2 separate regions of the Homo sapiens genome follow, and region 1 is linked to region 2. Evidence: promoter capture Hi-C in 16 types of primary human blood cells and fetal thymus (Javierre and others, 2016). All regions are on one chromosome and are shown on one strand. The core of a region is centred on a gene start or on the middle of the fragment in contact, and the rest is flanking DNA. Distances in the headings are between cores, read along the strand shown.

Evidence for each region. The method cuts DNA at HindIII sites, captures the fragments that hold promoters and counts their contacts. A CHiCAGO score of 5 or more calls a contact.
Region 1: a contact is called between a fragment that was not itself captured here and the fragment with the promoter of CCT2 in region 2, in 1 of 17 cell types (total CD8 T cells). The highest score is 6.4, in total CD8 T cells.

What each region holds. Positions count from the first base shown.
Region 1 is chr12:66,289,893-66,295,405 of GRCh38, reverse strand. It overlaps the pseudogene RN7SKP166. Among named protein-coding and RNA genes, the nearest start is that of HELB, 9.8 kb to the left of the region's middle. The HindIII fragment of the contact is 9,012 bases long and covers 1-5,513 here.
Region 2 is chr12:69,582,029-69,587,715 of GRCh38, reverse strand. CCT2 (chaperonin containing TCP1 subunit 2) reads right to left here and starts at 2,257. Exons shown (of 16, transcript NM_006431.3): 1 at 2,192-2,257; 2 at 1,372-1,446; 3 at 898-963; 4 at 100-211. The coding sequence starts at 2,194. MIR3913-1 (microRNA 3913-1) reads left to right here and starts at 2,893; the gene lies at 2,893-2,994. MIR3913-2 (microRNA 3913-2) reads right to left here and starts at 2,993; the gene lies at 2,894-2,993. RefSeq lists an enhancer at 1,887-2,226. The HindIII fragment of the contact is 2,214 bases long and covers 1,584-3,797 here.

The DNA.
Region 1 (5,513 bases), core at 1,472-3,971, 3.3 Mb after region 2:
TAAAAATATGTTATTATAATCTTATGAGACCACCACTATTAATGCAGTCCATCATTAACCAAAACATTGTTATATGTGGTGAATAACTGTTCCATAATTCTCTTACTGGGAATATAGATTCCTAGCAGTAAGTGGTAATATACCAGAAGGAACAAAAGACTCAAGATAAACGCATTCTCGTGTCCAATTGACTGGTATTATATTACTGAATACATTGTTGGGTTTTTTTTTTTTTTTGAGATGGAGTTTCGCTCTTGTCACCCAGGCTGGAGTGCAATGGTACGATCTCAGCTCACTGCAACCTCTGTCTCCCAGGTTGAAGCAATTCTCCTGCCTCAGCCTCCCGAGTAGCTGGGATTGCAGGTGCCCGCCACCACACCCGGCTAATTTTTTTATTTTTTATTTTAGTAGAGATGGGATTTCCCCATGTTGGCCAGGCTGGTCTTGAACTCTTGACCTCAGGTGATCCACCCACCTCGGCCTCCCAGTGGGCTGGAATTACAAGTGTGAGCCACAGCACCCAGCCAATACATTGTTTTTATATTAAAACAAATAAGGATATATTATGTAAAATGAAAAATTGACATGAATAAGGTAAAGAATAAAACTTAAAAGTAAGTCTACCTTTGAGGGGACAGGTTGGTTGGGCAATACTTCAAGATTCCATAGGGCATTCATGCCTTCTTCCTGGAAGTATGTGTGTTTCAGTGGAAATGTTGATATAATTAATTGACACTGTGTTGAGCCTTTGCCTTTAAATGTTACAAAGTAATGACCCCAATCACCTTAATTACAATTCAATTTACTTTACATTATTATGTATGTTTTTACCCATGCTAAAACATTTGTAGGGCTAAATTCATGCCTTTATATTTCTGTTTCAGCATATGAGTTTGTAAGTTGTAGGAGAGTATGTTCGTTAAAAAGTACTACCTTGGCCAGGTGCAGTGGTTCATGCCTGTAATCCCAGCTACTAAGGAGGCTGTGGCAGGAGAATCACTTGGAGGTGGAGGTTGCAGTGAGCTGAGATCGTGCCACTGCACTCCTATCTGGGTGACAGAGTGACACTCCATCTCAAAAAATAAAAATAAAAACAAAAGAACTGCCTCCCAATGAGCACGGTGGCTCACACTAGTAATTCCAGAGTTGTGGGAGGCCGAGGTGGGAGGATTGCTTGAGGCCAGCAGTTTGAGACCAGCCTAAGCAACAAAGAGAGACCCCATCACCACACACACACACACACACACACACACACACACACACACAATAATAAGCTGGGCATGGCGGTGCAAACCTATAGTCCCAGCTACTTTGGAGGCTGAGGCAACAGGATCGTTTGGGGACAGAAGTTCAAGGCTTCAGTGAGCTACGATTGTGCCATTGCACTCCAGCCCGGGTGACATAGTGAGACCCTAACCCAAAAAATAAATGAAAGAAAAGAAAAGAAAAGAAAAGAAAAAGGAAAAAGAAAAAGAAAAAGAATTGCTTTCCTAAATACATTTTCTGGAAGCTCCTTTCCTAACAAACATGCCATGGTTGAGGTGAGCACTAAAACAAAAATGCATCAACTCTGCTACCACAGAGAGATGGAGCTGGGGATCAGTTTCTAGCTGATCATGTTGGTCTTTGTTAGGCATTTTATGAAAACTATTTATCTCATCCTATATGATAAGTATAACTTTTTAAAAAGCAAACATTTGCAAAGTATTACTAAGAAGTAGATGACTACAATTCATTTATTCAGTCAATACATATTTTAGGATAGTTACTGTTCTGGGTACTGGAGAATAACAGTAAACAAAACAGACCAAGTCCTTGTACATCCTAAGAAGGAGCAAGGATCCATCCTAAGAAGGAGCAAGGATCCATCCTAAGAAGGAGCCAGGGAGCAAGTAAAAGTAATATCAAATGATGATGAGAACCAGAAGCAAAGATAAAAGAGAGAAAGGGGATAGAGAGTGCTATGGTTTGAATATTTGTCTCTTGCAAAATTCATGTTGAGGGCCAGGCGGCATGGCTCACGCTTGTAATCCCAGCACTTTGAGAGGCTGAGATGGGCAGATCACTTGAGATCAGGAGTTCCAGATCAGCCTGGCCAACATGGTGAAACCCCATCTCTACTAAAAATACAAAAAGTTAGCCAGGCGTGGTGGCACACACCTATAATCCCAGCTATGGAGAGGCTGAAGCTCGAGAATTGCTTGAACCCAGGAGGCGGAAGTTGCAGTGAGGCAAGATAGCGCCACTGCACTCTAGCGTGGGTGACAGAACAACACTCTATCTCAAGAAAAAAAAAATTCATGTTGAAACTTAATCCCCAATGTGGCAGCACTGAGAGGTGAGGAGGGTCATGAGGTATATTCATTTCATATCATTTAAGAGGTGATTGGGTCATGAGGTATCTTCCCTCGTGAATAGATTAATCCACTCATGGATTAATGGGTCAATGGATTAATGGGTTATCATGGGAGTGGGACTGGTGGACCTTGAGAGCTTGTTTGGAGGTTCTAGCAGGGGAGCGCAGTTGCCCGTATACCCTTGACCGAAGACCAGTCCTCTTCTATCAGGGATGGTAATCCTCTTTCACCGAGCACAGCTTTGGGAGGGACACACATGGAGTGGTGAGGGAGGAAGGGGACAACCGCCTAGCTGGCCAGATCAGCCAAGTCAACTCGGGCTATCAATGGGGTGGCAGATGTCACAGACAGATCACCCTCACATCCAGGACTGGTAGCTTTATGAGAAGAAGAGAGACCTGAACTAACATGTTCAGTCCCCTCACCATGTGATGCCGCCTGTTGCTCCACCAGCAAGAAGGCTTTCACCAGATATGTTCTCTCTACCTCAGACTTTCCAGCCTCCATAACTCTAAGTTATAAACAAATTCCTTTTCTTTATAAATTATCCAGTTTTAAGTATTCTGTTACAAGCAGCAAAAAATGAACTAACACAGAGCATGACTGTAGTGAGGTTTTGCTATTTCAGATAGAATGATGGATTGAAACCAAGGTAGAGATATTAAAAATTGACAATGAGATATTGTGTTGTATGGGCTATGGAATGAATTATTGAATAGAAGGAATGCAAATCAGGGAACATGTGAAAAGTGCTATGCTTATGCAATCTATAATCATCAATAGATGAAGACTGACTTTCTGGAATAGAAATATATTTGAGCATTCCACAGAGTCACTCTTGTTGCAAAAGATAAACTACATTCAGATCAGCAGGTCTGTTTTCCTGATTTATTTTAAATGGCTGGAAATTTCCTCCATTTGTGACAAGATTTCATATACAACATCCACTTCTGGCCAAGAAGGGAGAAAATCATCCTGCATTGGAGAAAAGTGAGATATGAAGAACTAGGTTGGAATAATGATGAGCAAAAAGGGAAAGAATGACTGAAAGGGAGACAGGAAGGAGAATGTGGAAAGATAATGTGATGAAGATATGGACAGCAGATGCAGGGGAGTTTCAAAAGAGTTGGAAAATTCTCCTTTAAAAAACAAAGCCATAATGCAGTAATAACTCGTGTTACACAATGCAGAATTCATTAAAGAATGCAAAATCTCTGAGATTTTATTTTTGATGTAAGAAAACATAGGCTGTGAGTGGTGGCTCATGCTGTAATCCCAGCACTTTGGGAGGCCAAGGCGGGTGGATCACCTGAGGTTAGGAGTCTGAGACCAGCCTGGCCAACATGGTGAAACCCATTCTCTACTAAAAATACAAAAAATTAGCCGGGCGTGGTGGCAGGCACCTATAATCCCAGCTGCTCGGGAGGCTGAGGCAGGAGAATTGTTTGAATCTGGGAGGCTGACGTTGCAGTTAGCGGAGATGGTGCCACTGCACTCCAGCCTACGTGACAGAGCAAGACTCTGTTTTTGTTTTTGTTTTTTTTCTGAAAACAAACAAACAAAAAAACCCCAGAATTTGGAGAGTACAAAGACAATGCTTTCACACTCAGAAAACAGAACAATTTTATATATTTAACTTCCTCCCTTAATTATAAACAACAACAATTATAATGGCTAATACTGAGTGTTTACATTGTGCTTTCCACACATCACAAAGTCCTCTCCTTCAATTAACTCATTTACTCTTCACAAAAGCCTCATGAAATAGTTAACATTAAAGCATCTATCTTACTTATGAGGAAACTTCTGCTGAGAGGTTAGATAACTTGCTTAAAGTTGGGAGTGGCTGAACCATGACTTGAACCTAAGAAGTCAGGCTCCAGTGACCGTGCTCTTTGCTGCTACATGTTCAGGCACAGCTCTGTGTTCTAAATATCTCTGCATGCACCCAGGAACCAACCTGGGGCTGTGAGGAGGCATACACTGCAGCATAGTATCAATCTCCTTGATTTGTTGCCTCTCTTTTGTTTGAGATTTGTAAAACAGATACACACTTCTCTGGGACCTTAGGGTAAAACCACAACAGTTGCAAAGTTACCACAACCTCTTGTCATCTCTAAGTGACAAATAACTTGAATTGCAAGGTTACTTGTTTTTTACACTGCTGCTGGATGAGCCTGTAAGAACTCTGTACACAGGGGTCTAAGATAAATAGCACATTGATATGGCTTGGCGGTGTCCCCACCCAAATCTCATCTTGAATTGCAGCACCTGTAATTCCCACATGTCTTGGGAGGAACCTGGTGGGAGGCAACTGAATCATGGGAGTGGGTCTTTTCTGTGCTGTTCTCGTGATAGTGAATAAGTCTCGTGAGATCTGATGGTTTTAAAAAGGGGAGTTCTCCTACACAAGCTCTCTTGCCTACCACCATGTAAGACATCCTTTGCTCTTCCTTTGTCTTCTGCCATGATTGTGAGGCCTCCCTAGCAATGTGGAACTGTGAGTCCATTAAACCTCTTTCCTTTTAAATTACCTGGTCTCAGGTCTTTAAATCAGTCTTTATTCACGGCGTGAGAACAGACTGATATATGCTACATACAGGATAAATAAATGTTCTTTACCTCTTTCCTGGGTGGCTCTGTTTTGGAGAGATTATTGTTGGCTGACATCTTTCCCATAATATTTGGCCATAAGTTTTTATTTTGAGAGAAACTACTTTTGTCCAACTCTTCAAAAACTCCACCTATGATCTCTTTGCTAAATGATATCATTGTTGAAGTACAGCAGTAAGCACAAGATTTAAGCATTTCTGATTTAAGCACTACTCCCCGAATTGTGTTTTTCCTGGTTTTCTGAAATATCTCTATGAGGGCCAGGCATGCTGGCTTACGCCTGTAATCCCAGCACTTTGGGAGGCAGAGGTGGGTGGATCACTTGAGGTCAAGAGTTCAAGACCAGACTTGCCAACATGGTAAAACCCCATCTCTACTAAAAATGCAAAACATACAAACATCAGGCAGGCATGGATGGTGGCAGGTGCCTGTAATCCCAGCTACTCAGGAAGCTGAGGCAGGAGAATTGCTTAAACCCAGGAGGCGGAGGTTGCGGTGAGCTGAGATCACACCACGGCACTCCACCCCAGGCGATCCCCATGT
Region 2 (5,687 bases), core at 1,008-3,507:
TGACAGTACGATTGGTCAACACAGCCTATTTATAAAGTTATTTCAAAAATGTTAACAAACAGTATTATTAGGTTGGTGAAAAAGTATATTCAGACTTACCAACTAAAACTTTAGCTGCTGGATTGTCAACACCAATGTTTTTTAGAATAGTGGCACCATCATTGGTTACCATAAGAGAGGCATCTCGTCCACTGCTTAGAAGAATTTTGTCCTAAAGGGAACATAATTGGTTCAAGTTAAGACATAAGCACATCTTGAAGAATGCATGGATCAATCAGTATTCTCACACAGTGCTAGTGTATAAACACTCTGGATAGCTATTTTGTGGTATCCATTCATCAAATGTTTTCAATACATACACCACGTAACCAAACCATGTATCTACCCCTAGAAACACTAGAAGCACAGGTAGACACTAGTTTTTGTTTCAACACCGTAACTGCAAAAACAATGGAAAGAAACTATCAATACAGCCATAATTAAATTATAAAATAATTAAGGTACAGGATAATATTTGACAGTTAAAGGGGCAGTGTTATCTACTTACACTGAAAGGAATTTAAAAGAGCAAGCTACAAAAAAGTATTGATAAATAGTATCTGTTTTATAAAACAGTATGTTACATGAGTATAAAATACATAATGAAGTACACATACTTCTACATAAACAGAATATTAGAAGATGTACGTGCAAATGATAACAGTACTTGTCATTGGGGAGGGGCATGGGATTGGGGATGGTGATTCTGGGGACTCTGATTTTTACTAAGGAGAACATACTTGTCTTTTATAATTAAACGTTTTAAAGATTAAAAAGCATTTTAATACGCTTGTTATTATATTTCCACCAAGCGCTCTAAAACAATATTAAAATATAAAACTTTTCTATTTTTCTTACCATGCCTTTGGGTCCCAAGGTGCTCTTTACCAAGTCTCCAATGGCGATGGCACCAATAAAAGAAGTCTGGAGTAAAAACCAAGGAGATTATCAGAATCAACTTTACAGTCTTCAAGTACAGTTTTATCTTTATTTACTTTTTTTTTTTTTTGAGGCAGAGTGTCGCTCTGTCGCCCAGGCTGGAGTGCAATGGCGCGATCTCAGCTCACTGCAACCTCCGCCTCCTGGGTTCAAGCGATCCTCCTGCCTCAGCCTCCCGAGTAGCTGGGATTACAGGTGCCCATCACCACGCCCGGCTAATTTTTGTATTTCTAGTAGAAACGGGGTTTTACCATGTTGGCCAGGCTGGTCTCGAACTCCTGACCTCAGTTCATCCGCCTACCTCGGCCTCCCAAAGTACTGGGATTACAGGAGTAAGCCACCGCGCCTGGCCTCCAGTTTTATCTTTAAAACAATGCTTAGAACAAGGCTTACCAGACGAGCTGTCTCTGCTCTCTCTTCATCAGCTCCTGCCTTAAAGATGTTAACAGGTGCAAGGGAAAGGGACGCCTGAAAAGGAAAACCAAGAGGCATTCCGTTTAAGTACCAATACTCTAACACATACACTGAGGTGCCTTCCACTAGTCTTACAAGTGGACATCTAAGAGAAAACTCATTTACAACAATGTTTTCAATCAAATGAAGCTTCCATCATCGGAGAAAGCATTTAAGTGGGAGAGAGGGACTTGTAGGAGAGCGACATGGCTTTTCGGATTTACAAGGCCCCCGGGAGTATAAATTATACACCAGCGAGATTGACAGTTACGTACAGCGAGACTAAAGACGATCTTGAACTAAGAATGAGGCAGGGAGGGGTTGCAGGCCATCAAGGTGACGCCTGCCGGGCGGGCGAGGGAACGCGGCCTCCATCTTCCACCCTCGGAAGGCTGCGGCCCCTCCACCCTCTGATGGCTCAGACCCCGTCGCTCCAGGCTCCGCCCCTAGAAGGAGGGCGGAGCGGGTCCCACACTAGAAATTTCTTCGCTCCGGGTGAGGCGCGGACCTGGGCTGCCGGGACTATGCAAAGACCTAGGCACAAGGAGACGCTGGCTTTGCGGTCCACCCCTCCCCCTCGTGGTGAGCTCCACCGGCTGGCCTGGCGCAGGCCGCACGCCCCGCGCATGGCTCGCACCATGTGCGGAGGGCCGGGGAGACAGAAACGGAGCCTACGACCCTAGCAGGACAGAGGAAGCAGTGGGGTGGCAAGAGCACGGCGGAGCAGGGGTAGGGCAAGAGGCAGGGGAGTCAGGCTCACCATGGTTCCGAGGAGTTCCGCACACAAGTGAATCCCCTCACAGCTCGTGCTCGGGACCAGCGGACTGAAGGAAGCCGGAAGTGACGCCACACGCCCTACTTCGGGGGGCGGGGCCCCGGCCTGTCGTTACCGCCAGCAGGCGTCCCATTTTGATTGGAGCCCCACGGGCCGGAAACGCAGCCTTTCACACTGGAGGGGGCGTGGCCGCCGCTCCAGAACAAAGAGGCGGCTGCCGCGCGGGTTGCCATAGAAATGGAGTTCTTGCTCACACTTTTTATTTTCTTAAATTTAATCTTTAAACACTTCTATTAAAGTCACACATGTACACAGTTTAAAGTGTTATATACCAATAAGGAAAAACATAATTTATCTGCCTCACCACTTCCTGTCTCCAGGAAAACTGCTTTCAACTTTTTCAGTTTTTTGGAGGGGCTATTTACTATCATATTCCCAGATAATATTATTGCTATGTTAATTTTAAACATTATTTACTGAGTATTACAGAAGAAGACTTCCTTTTCTCTTACTGAATTTTCAGACGTTATTTCTAACTGGACGTTGACTGCCCAGGATAAGGTCTTGTGAACTGAGAGAGACATTTATAGTATTTTATCTTTGCCCTATTTACTCATTTTCAGGAATTTTTGCATTTCGGTCTTTTTTTTTTTTTTCCTCCAATAGTAGAGACGACTTATTAGTCTTTGTTTATAATAAACTGAAATATTTGGGACTGATCTTGATGTCTGCCAAAACCTTGGCAGACATCAAGATCAGTCCCAAATATTTCAGTTTATTATAGACAGTTTTCTACTTTCTCTAAGTTGACGGATGTCTAAAAATTTGTTCTCTAAAAAATTTTTCTGTCATCTACTGATACCCTCTTTTCTCCCTTTGACTAACTGATCGCTTAAGCTCCTCGGCAGGGCGCGGTGGCTCACCCCTGTAATCCCAGCACTTTGGGAGGCCGAGGTGGGCGGATCACCTGAGGTCAGGAGTTGGAGACCAGCCTGGCCAACATGGTGAAACCCTGTCTCTACTGAAAATACAAAAATTAGCCGGGCGTGGTGTGCATGCCCGTAATCCCAGCTACTCAGGAGGCTGAGGCAGGATAATTGCTTGAACCCGGGAGGCAGAGGTTTCAGTGAGCCGAGATCACGCCGCTGCACTCCAGCCTGGGCAACAGAGCGAGACTCTGTCTCAAAACAAAAACAAAACAAAACAAGCTCCTGGATTTTTCTTTTTCTGTTTTGTTTTTTTTAGAGATGGGGTCTTCTATGTTGCCCAGGCTGGCCTGGAACTCCTGGGCTCAAGCAATCTTCCTGCCTTGGTCTCCTGAGTAGCTGGGGTCTCCTGGATTTTTGACATTGCTAACATTAACAGGAATTTTCAATTTTTTAGTTGTTTCTACCCTTCAGATTTCCTCTAAGTGGGTTGATTTCCACCAGGGGTTGGCAAGCTGTGAGGAGTCAAACCCAGCCTGCCAGTTGTTTTTTGTATGGCCTGAGAGCTAAGAATAGTTTTTACATTTTTAAGTGGTTGAAAGAAATCAAAAATTTCCTGACACATGAAAATCCTGTGAAATTAATATTTCAGTGTCCATAAAGCTTCATTGGAATCCATGGGCATACCCATACATATTTACTCTGTCACAATACGATAGCAGAGTTATGTGGCAGAGTTGAGTAGTCATGACAGGTTGAATGGGCCCACAAAACCTAAAACATGTATTATCTAATTCTTTACAGAAAAAGTTTGCTGACCCTGGTTTACAGTATTCCTCAGGTCCAACATGAAAAGGGGAGTTCAGGCTGGACAAATTGTTATTTTAAATCTCCCAAGAGTTTTCTCTTCTTTGTAGGAAAATTTGGTCTTCTTTCAGGAAATGTACTTTCCTAGGCAGATCCCAAATCGCATTCTGGAATGAGAAGATTCACAATAAAAAACTAAGATGCCTGCACAATATTGAAAAAGGTTGTTTTTATTGTGGGCAAAATTACATACCTGGAGATATTTATTATGTCCTCTGGTAGGCAAGCCTGAGACTGTGTGTGATGGGGAAACCAATGACTGCTCCCTGCTGGGCTTTGAATGTAGCCAGAGGCATTTGGATGGGGAGAAGGAGGCAGGCCCTGCCACCTTGTGGAACTGAGGCTAGAGGCAGCCAGGAAGAGACTCTATGATGGGACCCTTGGAAATGTGTCCTTTCTCCATTGCATCTTTTGACCCTTCCTTCTTTCCTACTTCCCCCTCCTTTGATGACACCTCTACACCTAGAGGCTAAACACTCAGCTTCTAGACCCAGACTATATGAGTTTGAATTTCAACCATTTTACGTACTAGCTTTGTAGTCTTGGGTGGGTTTCACAGGCTCTTTAAATCAGTTCATTGAAGGCCATTCAGAGCGTGATCAATGTGCTGGTTTACCAAAAACTGTCTCTTTTAGCTGTTTATACTTTTTTGTTGTTGTTGTTGTTGTTGAAACAGAGTTTCACTCTGTCGCTCGGGCTGGAGTGCAGTGGTATGATCTCAACTCACTGCAACCTCCGCCTCCCGGGTTCAAGCAATTCTCCTGCCTCAGCCTCCCAAATAGCTGGGACTACAGGCATGCACCACCACAGCTGGCTAATTTTTGTATTTTTAGTAGAGACAGGGTTTAACCATGTTGGCCAGGGTGGTCTCGAACTTCTGACCTCAAGCAATCTGCCCACCTCAGTCTCCCAAAGTGCTGGGATTACAGGCATGAGCCACCACACCTATATATATATTTTTTAATTGAGACAGGGTCTTACTCTGTCACCCAGGCAGGAGTGCAGTGGTGTGATCTCCACTCACTGCAACCTCTGCCTCCTGACTTCAAGCGATCCTCCGACCTGTCTCCCGAGTAGCTGGAAATACAGGCATGCGCCACCACACCAGCTAATTTTTTGTATTTTTGGTGGAGACGGGATTTTGCCATGTTTCTCAGGCTGGTCTTGAACTCCTGAATTCATGCGATCTGCCCACCTTGGCCTCCCAAAGTGCTGGAATTACAGGCAGAAGCCACTGTGCCCATCTATTTATACATTTTATCGTAATTTGTATTAGATAGGTTACAGGGCCTATGGAGATAGTGAGACCTTGGGAATCCATGTTTCTGTGATTAAACACGTTGTGTGACTTTCTCCTGGCTCATCTTCTGTCCTCTACTCTCAAGTCCCTTGGTCTTGGCTTCTCTTAGTTAACCCTTCCTCCTCCCTCAAAGTCTTTGTGACCCTCTCCTCTCTATGACCCTGTGTCCTCCTCTCTCTTCCCCTTGGTATAATTTGGCTTTCAGTGAATTGGCTTTTTGTTAACTGGTCAGCTTCCAGTTATATAATCTCTCTGTGCCTCAATTTCCCTTTGTGTAAAATGGAGATAATTATCACAGATTAAATAGCTTAGAACAGTGCCTGTTTAGCTTAGCTATTGTTATCATTATATCCCAAGTCTTCTAATAGGCTTTATAAATATAGTAGCC